Regions from separate parts of the Homo sapiens genome. Here region 1 is linked to region 2. Evidence: promoter capture Hi-C in 16 types of primary human blood cells and fetal thymus (Javierre and others, 2016). All regions are on one chromosome and are shown on one strand. The core of a region is centred on a gene start or on the middle of the fragment in contact, and the rest is flanking DNA. Distances in the headings are between cores, read along the strand shown. Region 1 has its middle 340 kb from the start of LINC01648. Region 2 holds the start of PTPRU (protein tyrosine phosphatase receptor type U).

Evidence for each region. The method cuts DNA at HindIII sites, captures the fragments that hold promoters and counts their contacts. A CHiCAGO score of 5 or more calls a contact.
Region 1: a contact is called between a fragment that was not itself captured here and the fragment with the promoter of PTPRU in region 2, in 1 of 17 cell types (endothelial precursors). The highest score is 9.7, in endothelial precursors.

Annotation. Positions count from the first base shown.
Region 1 is chr1:29,698,388-29,703,572 of GRCh38, reverse strand. No RefSeq gene overlaps it. Among named protein-coding and RNA genes, the nearest start is that of LINC01648, 340 kb to the left of the region's middle. The HindIII fragment of the contact is 2,061 bases long and covers 567-2,627 here.
Region 2 is chr1:29,232,933-29,237,986 of GRCh38, reverse strand. It overlaps PTPRU (protein tyrosine phosphatase receptor type U), which reads right to left and starts at 1,465. Exons shown (of 30, transcript NM_133178.4): 1 at 1,270-1,465. The coding sequence starts at 1,342. RefSeq lists a silencer at 1,343-1,662. The HindIII fragment of the contact is 8,758 bases long and covers 1-5,054 here.

The DNA.
Region 1 (5,185 bases), core at 348-2,847, 470 kb before region 2:
CACTGGTCTGCGGAGAGAGATATCAATAAGTAGAAATTAGCTTATTTCTGGAAATTGAGTGAGAAGGGAGTCTGGGCTGGTTTTGTGTTTTAAACTATTTCTCTTTTCATCCTACCTCTCTGCCTCTGATGCCAACGCCCTGAGGGCAGAAGTGGAGTTGACAGGACCAGAAGTCTCGAGCCAGGCCCCGGCAGTCAGCAGAGAGACCCAACCAGGCCTGGGGCCTCTGCAATGGCCGAGGACATCAAGCCTAGCCTCAGTGAGGACACCAACAGAGCTGGGCTCTAATGGTGGGAAAGAAGGTGCAGGATGGAGAGAGGCTCAAGAGGGGGAAGAACAACCTATGTTCCAGCCCCTCTTTCCCTGCCCCACACCTCTTTATGCTGCAGGTGCAATCGCTTGTCCCTGCTCCTCAGGCGTGCTGGGCCCCTCCAGACCATGCTCCTTTGCACATGCTGTTCCTCTGCCACGAATGTCCTTCCCAGCCACATACCTCCTCCTCCATGCAGTCTTCTCAAGCTGCTCTCCTCCAACCCCAACTCCACCCCACGCACCCACCTCAAGCTTTATTCTTCTAAGGCCTCTTCCAGCTCCAGGTCTTCATACTCTTAGAAGCTCCTTTCTCCATCAGATCAAACATATCAAGATTGCACATTAAATCAGTGTATGTATATAACTACATAAGAGCCAAGGAGAGCACAAAGTGACAGTTGATGATGTTACATTTTGCAGAGATTTAATTAAACATGTCAATTTGAAGGTTGTATCTTTCTGTTTGTATTTGAATCTCATAACTTTTTTCAGGCCTTAAACATGTTGATAGGGCCGAATGAGCTTTAGTGCCTCTGTAGATGGGGATTCAGATGAGCTCAGCATCCTGGGGTCTTAGAGGTGGCAGAGAGCCCTGAAGTCATCTTTCTACTCTAGATTTTTCAGGGCAAGATGGAGAGTCAGGGACAGAGAGAGGCGAATGTGTCTGAGGTCACAGAGAAGATCATGGTAGGTCCAAGAGAAGGAATTGGGAACACCTGATCCAAGTCCAAGGCCACATCTCCCACAGTTTACTGTGTGGACTGGGGCCAAGGACTTTTGGCCTGGCCTACCCTCTAAAGTGGACCCGAGAATCAAACCAAATCCAAATATTGCAGTAGCTGCTGTGTTCTGGGTGGTCCCCATGCATGAGCCCTGATGCTAAGCAGTGTGTGTGTCTTTCCCCATTTCTCCCTCTCAACTTTCAGTGAGGCAGGTGCCATTATTGTCTGTCTCTCCTTGCAGAGAAGACCACTCGGTGAGGCTCAGAGAAGAGAAAAGACCAGCCAAAAAAAAAACCCTGCCGGGCACATGGCAGAGCTAGGAGTCCATCCCAGACAGTGTAGGGCTAGAGCCTCCAAGCCACCCCTGTTCTATGAGCCCCAGGCAGAGAGAAAAGGAGGGAAGGTGGTGGGAGGGGAGAGGAGAGAGGCTCCTTCCCTTGGATGTCTGGGGGAGATCCAGGCCATGGTCTGGCACATGCCGCAGCACATCCTGTGGGTTCATGTGTTCAGATGGCCTGACCCTCTACAGGGAGCATCATGGCATGGGCTTGAACATGCCAGATACGCCTTAGCCCTGAGCAAGCCCTCTGTCCCCAGGGTCCCAGGGAAGGCAAACTGCTCCACAGACCTAGCTGAGTGCAGCAAAAACAGGACAGCAGAAGGGATAACACCATCAGATGGACCTGGGCTGAATCCCAGCGCCACCATGTCCTGACGGCTGAAACGTGGGCAAAGCTCTGCCTTCCCTGAGCCCCAGCTTCTGAATCTGCAAAACGGACACAGTGTCTAACCACCACCTTGTAGTATTGTTGGGGACTTGAAGTAAAATGAGATAGAGGAGGAAACTGGTGCTCAGAGATGTTAAGACAGGTGCCCGGGGCTCACACAACTGGTAAGCTGTGAAGCCGGAATGCAGGCTTTACTGTCCTCTGTTCTAGTCTTCGCTCCCCAACTTACAAGCCATAGGACCAGTGAATTTACCTTCTTTTTTTGAGATGGAATCTCGCTCTGTCGCCCAGGCTGGAGTGCGGTGGCGCGATCTCGGCTCACTGCAACTTCTGCCTCCCAGGTTCAAGCAATTCTCCTGCCTCAGCCTCCTGAGTAGCTGGGATTACAGGCATGCACCACCATGCCCAGCTAATTTTGTATTTTTTAGTAGAGATGAGGTTTCACTACATTGGCCAGGCTGGTCTCGAACTCCTCACCTCGTGATCCGCCCACCTCAGCCTCCCAAAGTGCTGGGATTACAGGTGTGAGCCACTGCGCCCAACTTGATTTTACCTTCTAAGCCTCAGTTTTCTCATCTGTGAAATGTAGATAATGATACTGTCTTGCAGGTTTTCCTTTGGTATTTGCAATCTTGTGTTTAAATTGTCTGGTACCCAGTAACATCCATGACCTGGTAGTTAAAATGATGGTGATGATGGTGATGATAATAAACAGGTTGGATTGAGCAGAATTAATAGGGAGAAGAGAGTTGATTAAGGGAATTCCTGTCCCCACCAGGAGAAGGAATAGGCTGATTATCTACTGATGCTCCCACTGCCCATCCCTCTTCTTCCTCCTACCCCTCACCACCAGCTCCAGGAAGCTTATGAGGGACACTTGTGGGGAGGGCAGCTACTTCCCCTGTGAACTTTGGCTGCTATTCTTCCTCACAAAGAAGATTCATCAGTCATTACAGGCATGAGAAGTATGACTGGTTCTGCTCTCCATGGAAGTGGGGGCTGGAGAGATGAGAACAGGGAGGGTGAGGTAGGTATGGGCAGTTGGATGGCAGGTGGGGCTTGGCTTGTTAGTGGGTGACCCTGCAGCAGTCCTGCTGTGAGCACAGGCTCTTTCCCAATCTAATTAGCATTGCTGAGAATTCAACTACACAGCCCTGAAGTGAGTTTGCTTCCCCAAGAGCATTCCAGAACGAATACTGATTAAATATGAAACAGTTCCTCCCTTCAGGGCTAAGTCTAGAAGGCACAAATCAGAAATGGGAGCTGTAATTATTAGCTCTGATTTTAAGTAATAGAATAGAATAGAATACAATAGAATAGAATAGAATAGAATAGAATAGAATAGAATAGAATAGAATAGAATAGGAGGATAGAATCCAATCTTCCCATCCCACAAGTAAAAACAACCAACAATATTCCGAGTTATTTCTGCTCTATTTAAAGGAGCATGAGCTTTTTTATTCTTTGCTCCTTCCCATTGTTATCTTTCTGCTTTTTCATCCGGGTGATTTGCTGTGTACCTACTATGTGCCCGGCATATATGGATGCAAGGGTAAGAAATAAACAAGTCAGACTAGGTGCCCGCTCTTCTGGGGCTCACAGTCAAGAGGGGGATGTGACCTTTTAAAAAAAAAGTCCCAACAGATTAGTGCAACTCACCTGAGGATGGGCCAAGTATGCCATGCACAGGAGGATGCTGAGAGGGACTAACTCAACTACGGGATGGTTGAGTGTCTTAGGAGCTGATATTTAAATTGAGGACTGAATGGCTTTTGCACTTGTTCCCTCTGCCTGGAATGCTCCTCCTCAGACATCCACAGGGCTCCCCACTTAACCTCCTTTAAGTCTGCAAAAACATTTGTGTTAACCGCAACTCCCCACATTCCTGGGCCCCTTCCCTGCTTTATTTTTCTCCATTGCACTTGTCCTTGTGTTACCAATACATTTAATCTAGATGTTTATTGCCCATCTCTGCCTATTAGAAGATAAGTTTTCTGAGGCCAGAAATTGTTGTTTCTCTCTGTTCTATACCCAGTACCTGGCACAGAGCAGGGACTCATTCAATATATGTTGAATGACTGAATGACATCATTAGTCATGCTTTGCTTTGTTCTGTTTCTTAAGAGACAAGGTCTCACTTTGTAGCCCAGGCAGGAGTCATGCTATGGAGCACAGACCTTATCCTTAGAGCAAAGAGGGGCGATCCCAGGATCTTAAGGAGGTATGTGGCCAAGCTGGTTTAGAAAGATCTTGCTGCATGAATTGCAGGAGACGAGAGGCTAGGAGGTCCCACAGGAGTGTGCTGAAGGAGGTGTGGACCAGTGTTGTGATGGGGGAGATGCCTGGAAGGGAATGGAAGGAGGAATAAAAAAAAAAGATGATACCCTGGGGGGTCTTAGCACCCAAAGGGCGCCGTGGGTTTTGAGAATGTGGTTCAGGGGATCCAGAGTTAAAGCCCAAGTTCTCGACATTGGTGAGCAGCCAGGAAGGGAGGTGGCAGAGTGGCCGCCAGGGCACAGAGGGGTTCAGATGTAGTCAGACTGCAACGGAGCAGCCTGTGGCCATCCAGACCCCACCACAGAGCCCGGAGATAACCAACAGGATGAGGACTGAGCCAGAAACGGGGAGGCAGGAGATGAATGATGTATTAGGCCTCACAGGAGGCACACATATCTTCCTCCCTGTGCGAAAGCTTCCCTGATTTTCATCAAAAACAAGCAGGGGAGAGGAGGATGCGTGGATTTGTAATGAGCCCTGACACATCACCTGGTTACAGATCTCACAGCCCGGCTGATCCTCCCAGACCCAGCTACAACGACCCGGGCCCCGCCATGGCCTATAACAGAGCACATGCCCTTGGTGGGAAAGCCAGCCCCTCCGGCTGTCCCTTCCCAGGGGCAGGGGCAGGAGCAGGGCCAGTGTGGGGGTGGGGCTCAGCCCCAGCCAGAGGGCTCTGGTTGCCATGGAAATGGGTGGTCCTGAGCAGAGCCCCCTCAGCCAGGCTCCAGCATCCAGAGCAAGGGCGCAGTTAGCCTCGGCCCCCGGGTTCCGTGACCACTGTTCCCACTGTGCAGGTGGAAGCAACCAGCCCCTTCAGAACCCCCAAGACAGAGGATTCAGGTACCTTCTGGAGCAGCCTTCGTCCACCATCAAGGTCCTGCTCGCAGAGACGAGCAGAGCCCAGGCTCAGCTGGGCGCCTTTAGGTCTAGAGACCTCAGCTACTGGGGCTGAAAATGGAGGCCTCTGAGATGAGCCCAGAAGGAACCAGGACTGAACTTATGATGACCTAGAGGCTTCTGTGGCTCCATCTGTTCCTTTTCTGGGGGAGAGCTGAGGCTCTGAGGGGTGGGTAGTGCCCCCACAGTCCCCTGGGTCAGCTTCTCCCTGGTCTCCAAGGCTCCCAACCCTGGCCAAGCCTTTAG
Region 2 (5,054 bases), core at 216-2,715:
GTCCCCCGCGCGTCCTGCGCGCCAAGGGAGGGGGCGCCGTCCCCCGGCGGCGAGCCAGGCCCTGCCCGCGCCCGGACGTCGCAGCCCAGCCCGGGGACAGCCCCCGCCCGGCCGCCCGGGGCGCAGCCGCGGCCCGGCCACCGCAGGAGCGCCCGCCGGTCCGGCCCTCCCCTGCCCGCCCGCCGGCCCCTCGCTGGGGCCCGCTGGCCCGGGCGCCCCGCAGCCCCGGCGCCGCCTCGGATCAGCCGCCCGCCAGCGCCGCGCGGAACTTGCGAAACAACAAACAGTCCGACATGCCCGAGGCGGCGGCCGCGGGGCCCGGTCCTCCCCTGAGCCTCGGGCCCTGCCCGACCCGGGCAGCCCAGGGGGCGCCGCCGCGACAACTTGTTCCGGCCCAGCGCGCCACACACGCGCACACGCACACGCGCGCACACACGTCCTGCCACCGCCCCCTCGGGCGGCCCCGGGACCAGGGCACACTCGCAGCCGCGGCCCAGGCGCGCTCCACACTCGCAACATTCCTGGACGCGCAGCCAGCACACACGGACACATTCGCACACACTCACATCCGTTCCAGACTCGCTCCCACACACGCATTCCCGGCACACTTGGCATTCACTCGGACCCACGCGGCCCCCGGCAGCACACACCACATACCCTAGACACTCCCCACACGTACACAGCGCACGGACACACACGTTCCGGACCCGTTCCCACGCCTTCACACATGTACACGGATCTCAAAAGCACACACGCCACACACGCGTTCCCGGATCCACACTCAGGCGGGATCCAGAGAGCACCCTTGGCCACAGGCATAACACAAACACACAACCCACTCGCAGACACAAAACAAACAGCACTCCCGGCCAGGCATACAAAATGCAAACAAATGCAACACATTAGCAGATACAACTCCCGCAACACAACCAAACTCAGATGCACACACAACCCACTTGGCCACACAAACACTACACACTGGCAGACCCACAAGACACTCAGCGCACACCCAATGCCTCGATGCACACAACATTCACCCCCAACATACTCGCCGACACACATCACCTTTTCTTGCGCACAGAACTCACGGACACACAACATTCGCAGTCACGCAACACCCCGGGCACACAATCGCCCATCCTACGCTCAGACACACACAGGGAGCACGCTCGTAACGCCCGGTCACTCAACACTCACACTTTCTTCCGAGCTACGCCACGGGCCCCGAGGCTCGGCGGGGCAGGCTCGGTCCGGCCGCCGCGCGCTTACCTGCCGGAGTCTCGGTCTCCGGCGCGCAGAGCTGGAAGGTGAGTGCCAGCACGAGCGCCTGGGCACGGGCCATGGTTGGAGCGTCGCCGCCCGTCCCGGGGCCCGGCGCGGGGGACGCCGCCCCCGGAGCCCGAGCCCAGCCCGAGGCGAGCCGGAGCCCGAGCCGGAGCGGAGCGGCGCGGCGCGGAGCGGGACTGGCGCCGAGTCCAGAGCGCGAGCCGGAGCAAGCGGGGCGCTGACGTCAGGCCCGGCCGCGGGTTCGGCGGTCTCGCGGCGCTCCCTGCTGGCCACGGCGGGTGCTGCAGCGGGTCCGGCCGCCCGCTAGCCCTGGCGCGCCCCTCCCCCGCTCCCGCATCCTCCCCGCCATGAGGCCCCGCGGCTGGGTCTGGACGCCCACGGACGTCTCCACGGACCGGGCACCAACACTGCCAGGCGAGCACGCTCATGGCCCACGCCTAGCTCCCGTACAGCGCTCTCAGGGACGGTGACCCAGGGACACCCGGCCTCTGTCCCATCCGATGCCTGAATCCCTTGTACCTTGGCGCCTTCAAATGCGTGTTCTACATACCTCCAGGAACAGGGCGCTCATCACCTGGCCAAGAGCGGTTGTTGGGGCTTTGGAAACGCCGGCTTTTAGAAAGTTTTTCATTTCATGACGTGCAAGTCTACCTCCCTCACTAGCCCTCACTGGTCCTACTCTACCTTCTGGCTACACAGGTTAAATGTATTTGGGCCTCTACCCAGAACGAGCCCTCGCACTATGATCTGCAAACTCGTTGCTCATTACTATGTAAGACCAGGTACCTTCTATGTGTTTAACCCACATGGACTCATTTAATCATCATATATTAGGTATGCAATAATTATACTGCATAAATACTGTTATGCAACAGTATTTGACAGCACCGAGATTTGAATCAAAGTTGTTTGGTTTGAATTGAATAGGGGCTGAGACCTTCCTCCCATCTGGACACCTATTCATTCAACAAATATTTATTGGGGTCTATTCATTTATTCAACAATTACTATAGGCCAGGGTAGAGATATAAAACAGACAAAAATTCCCTACTCTCATGGACCTTACATTCCAGTGGGAAGACAAGAACAGTAAACAACCAAAAAAACAAAAACAAAAAAGCAAACCCTCTGGTGTACGTCCTTTATCACTGTCTCATACACCAGGAAATTTGGGGGTGGTGGGGGGACAGGGAAGGGAAGGGGAATTGTTGCAATTTCAAATAGAGTGCGGGCTATATGATGAGTTCATTATCTGTCTCCACCTCTAGAAATGAGCTCCCTTGGGAAAAGACTCATCTTGTATTTCCGTGCCCAGTATATGGCATGTTTTTATTATTTTATTTTATTTTATTTTATTTCAAGATGGAGTTTCACTCTTGTTGCCCAGGCTGGAGTGCAATGGCGCAGTCTTGGCTCATTGCAACCTCTGCCTCCCAGGCTCCAACAATTCTCCTGGCTCAGCCTCCCAAGTAACTGGGATTACAGGTGCCCACCACCACGCCCGGCTAATTTTCGTATTTTTAGTAGAGACAGGGTTTCACCATGTTGGCCAGGCTGGTCTGGAACTCCTGACCTCAGGTGATCCACCTGCCTCAGTCTCCCAATGTGCAGGGATTACAGGCGTGAGCCACCGCGCCCGGCCTCTGGCACGTAATTGATGCTCAATAAATACTGACTGGATGGAATGAATGAAAGGGAAATGGTCCTAGCCTTCATGAATCTTACATTCTATTAGGAGAGCCCAACAGCAAACATGTACATAAATATATCATTACCATCTAAGATATGCAAGCTAAAGGAAACGAGGGAGTATAATGATAAAGAACATAGGGAAGGGGCATCTCCTTTAGATAAGTGGTCCAAGAGGGCTTTGCTATAGAAGTGACATGGTGACATTTGAACTGAGACCTGAAGTATGAGAAGGAGCCAACCTCATGCAAATCAGTGGAGAGGAACATTGCAGTCAGAGGGGACAGCCTGTGCAAAGGCAGGAGCTGGTGGGTACAAGCAGCTGCAAGGAAGCCGGGCAGCTGGCATGGAGTGAGTCAGGGGCAGAAGGGAGCCAGGTGCAGCTAGACAAGTCAGCAGGGTCTGTAGGTCAGGCAAGAAACTATGAGCAAGGAAGGGGCTTGAGGTTCAACCCTAAGAGTAATTAATGGGAGGCCACTGAAGTGGAGTAATTAAGCAGAGGAGTAATAAGGAGTAATAAGTTCTGATCTCTGGGTTTTTTTTTTTTTGTTTTTTTTTTTTTACAGCTCCAGCTATAAAGACTGCTGAAGTAGGGAAAGCCATGGGCAGATGGGTCTGACCACTGGGCAGTGACACTGAACAAAGCGTAGGAGTTCAAGGTATATGTAGGCCCTCCCTGTGCCCTGCCCCTCCTAGCTGGCTTCATGCTGAGATGGACACACCTTGAAGCTGCCCTGGGGCTGGAGGAGGTATCGCTGGGTTGAGAGTTCCTGGGCTCTTGGTCTCCTCTCTTGTGAGAGCTGATGAGCTCCACACTGAGTTAGGAAAGGGACCAAAAGACACAGCAGGCAAGAATTAGACACAGATAATTAAATAGGGAGAGGGAGGCAGAAGCAAGAAGAAACCAAGGGGAAACCTTAGGGAAGAAACTAAGATACAGAGACGCTGGAGCAGAGAGGAGCCAGAGAGGCCCACCCAGAAAAGGAAACTCAAGGAGAGAAAACCAGTGAACAGAAGAAACAACCAAGGGTGCTGTTTGCAGAGGGCTCTTGAGAGAGCCTCAAAATAGGAGTTTTACCAGTGATCCCATTTTACGGGTGTGGAAACTGAGGTTCAGAGAGCATATGACACTTGCCTAAGGTGACACAGCTAGTAAATAGACGGCGGGCCCTAGATTTGAACCCAGATCTGACTGATTCCACATCCCTTTGCCCTTTGTGCAGGGGAAGATGGCAGAGACTATAATGGAGGGAGAAAGAGAACACAAGCAACAGGTAGACAGATGAGAAGAGGACTTTCTGCTTTACTTTTAAAAGACCACAAACTTCAGCCGGGCACAGTGGTTCACACCTGTAATCCCAGCATTTTGGGAGGCAGAGGCGAGGTCAGGAGTTTGAGACCAGCCTGACTAACATGGTGAAACCCTGTCTCTACTAAAAAAAAAAAAAATACAAAAATTAGCCAGACGTAGTTGCGGGCACCTGTAATCCCAGCTACTCAGGAGGCTGAGGCAGGAGAATTGCTTGAACCTGGGAGGCGGAGGTTGCAGTGAGCCAAGATCGCGCCATTGCACTCCAGCCTGGGCAACGAGCAAAACTCTGTCTCAAAAAAAAAAAAAAAAAAAAAAAAAGACCACAGACTTCTATAATCCTTGAGAGAAGAAGGAAGAAGGAAATTCCTGGCCTGGAGTGACCAGCCCAAATCTAGGGAAAAGGAGATGGCACCACAGACCGTTCTAGGCCATGAGGAAATTCAATTACCTGCAACTCATGGAATATTTATGACACCTACCCTGTGCCAGGCTCATATCGGGTGCTGGTGTTATGGAGATAAACCAAACATGGCTCCAGTCTTGCCTGGAGGGGAATAAATAAGAGACGATGTACTAAAGGCCATAACACAGCTCCAGGGAAAACACAAAGGCAGCAGCAGATGACCTAGGGAGTTTTGAAACATCAAAGAAATGACATCTGAACCTGGAGTTTCCGAGGCAGGGAACAGCATTTCAGGCAGAAGGAGTGGCCTGAATAAAGGCACAAGACACACTGGGGAAGACGGGTATCAGATGCAGCTGGATC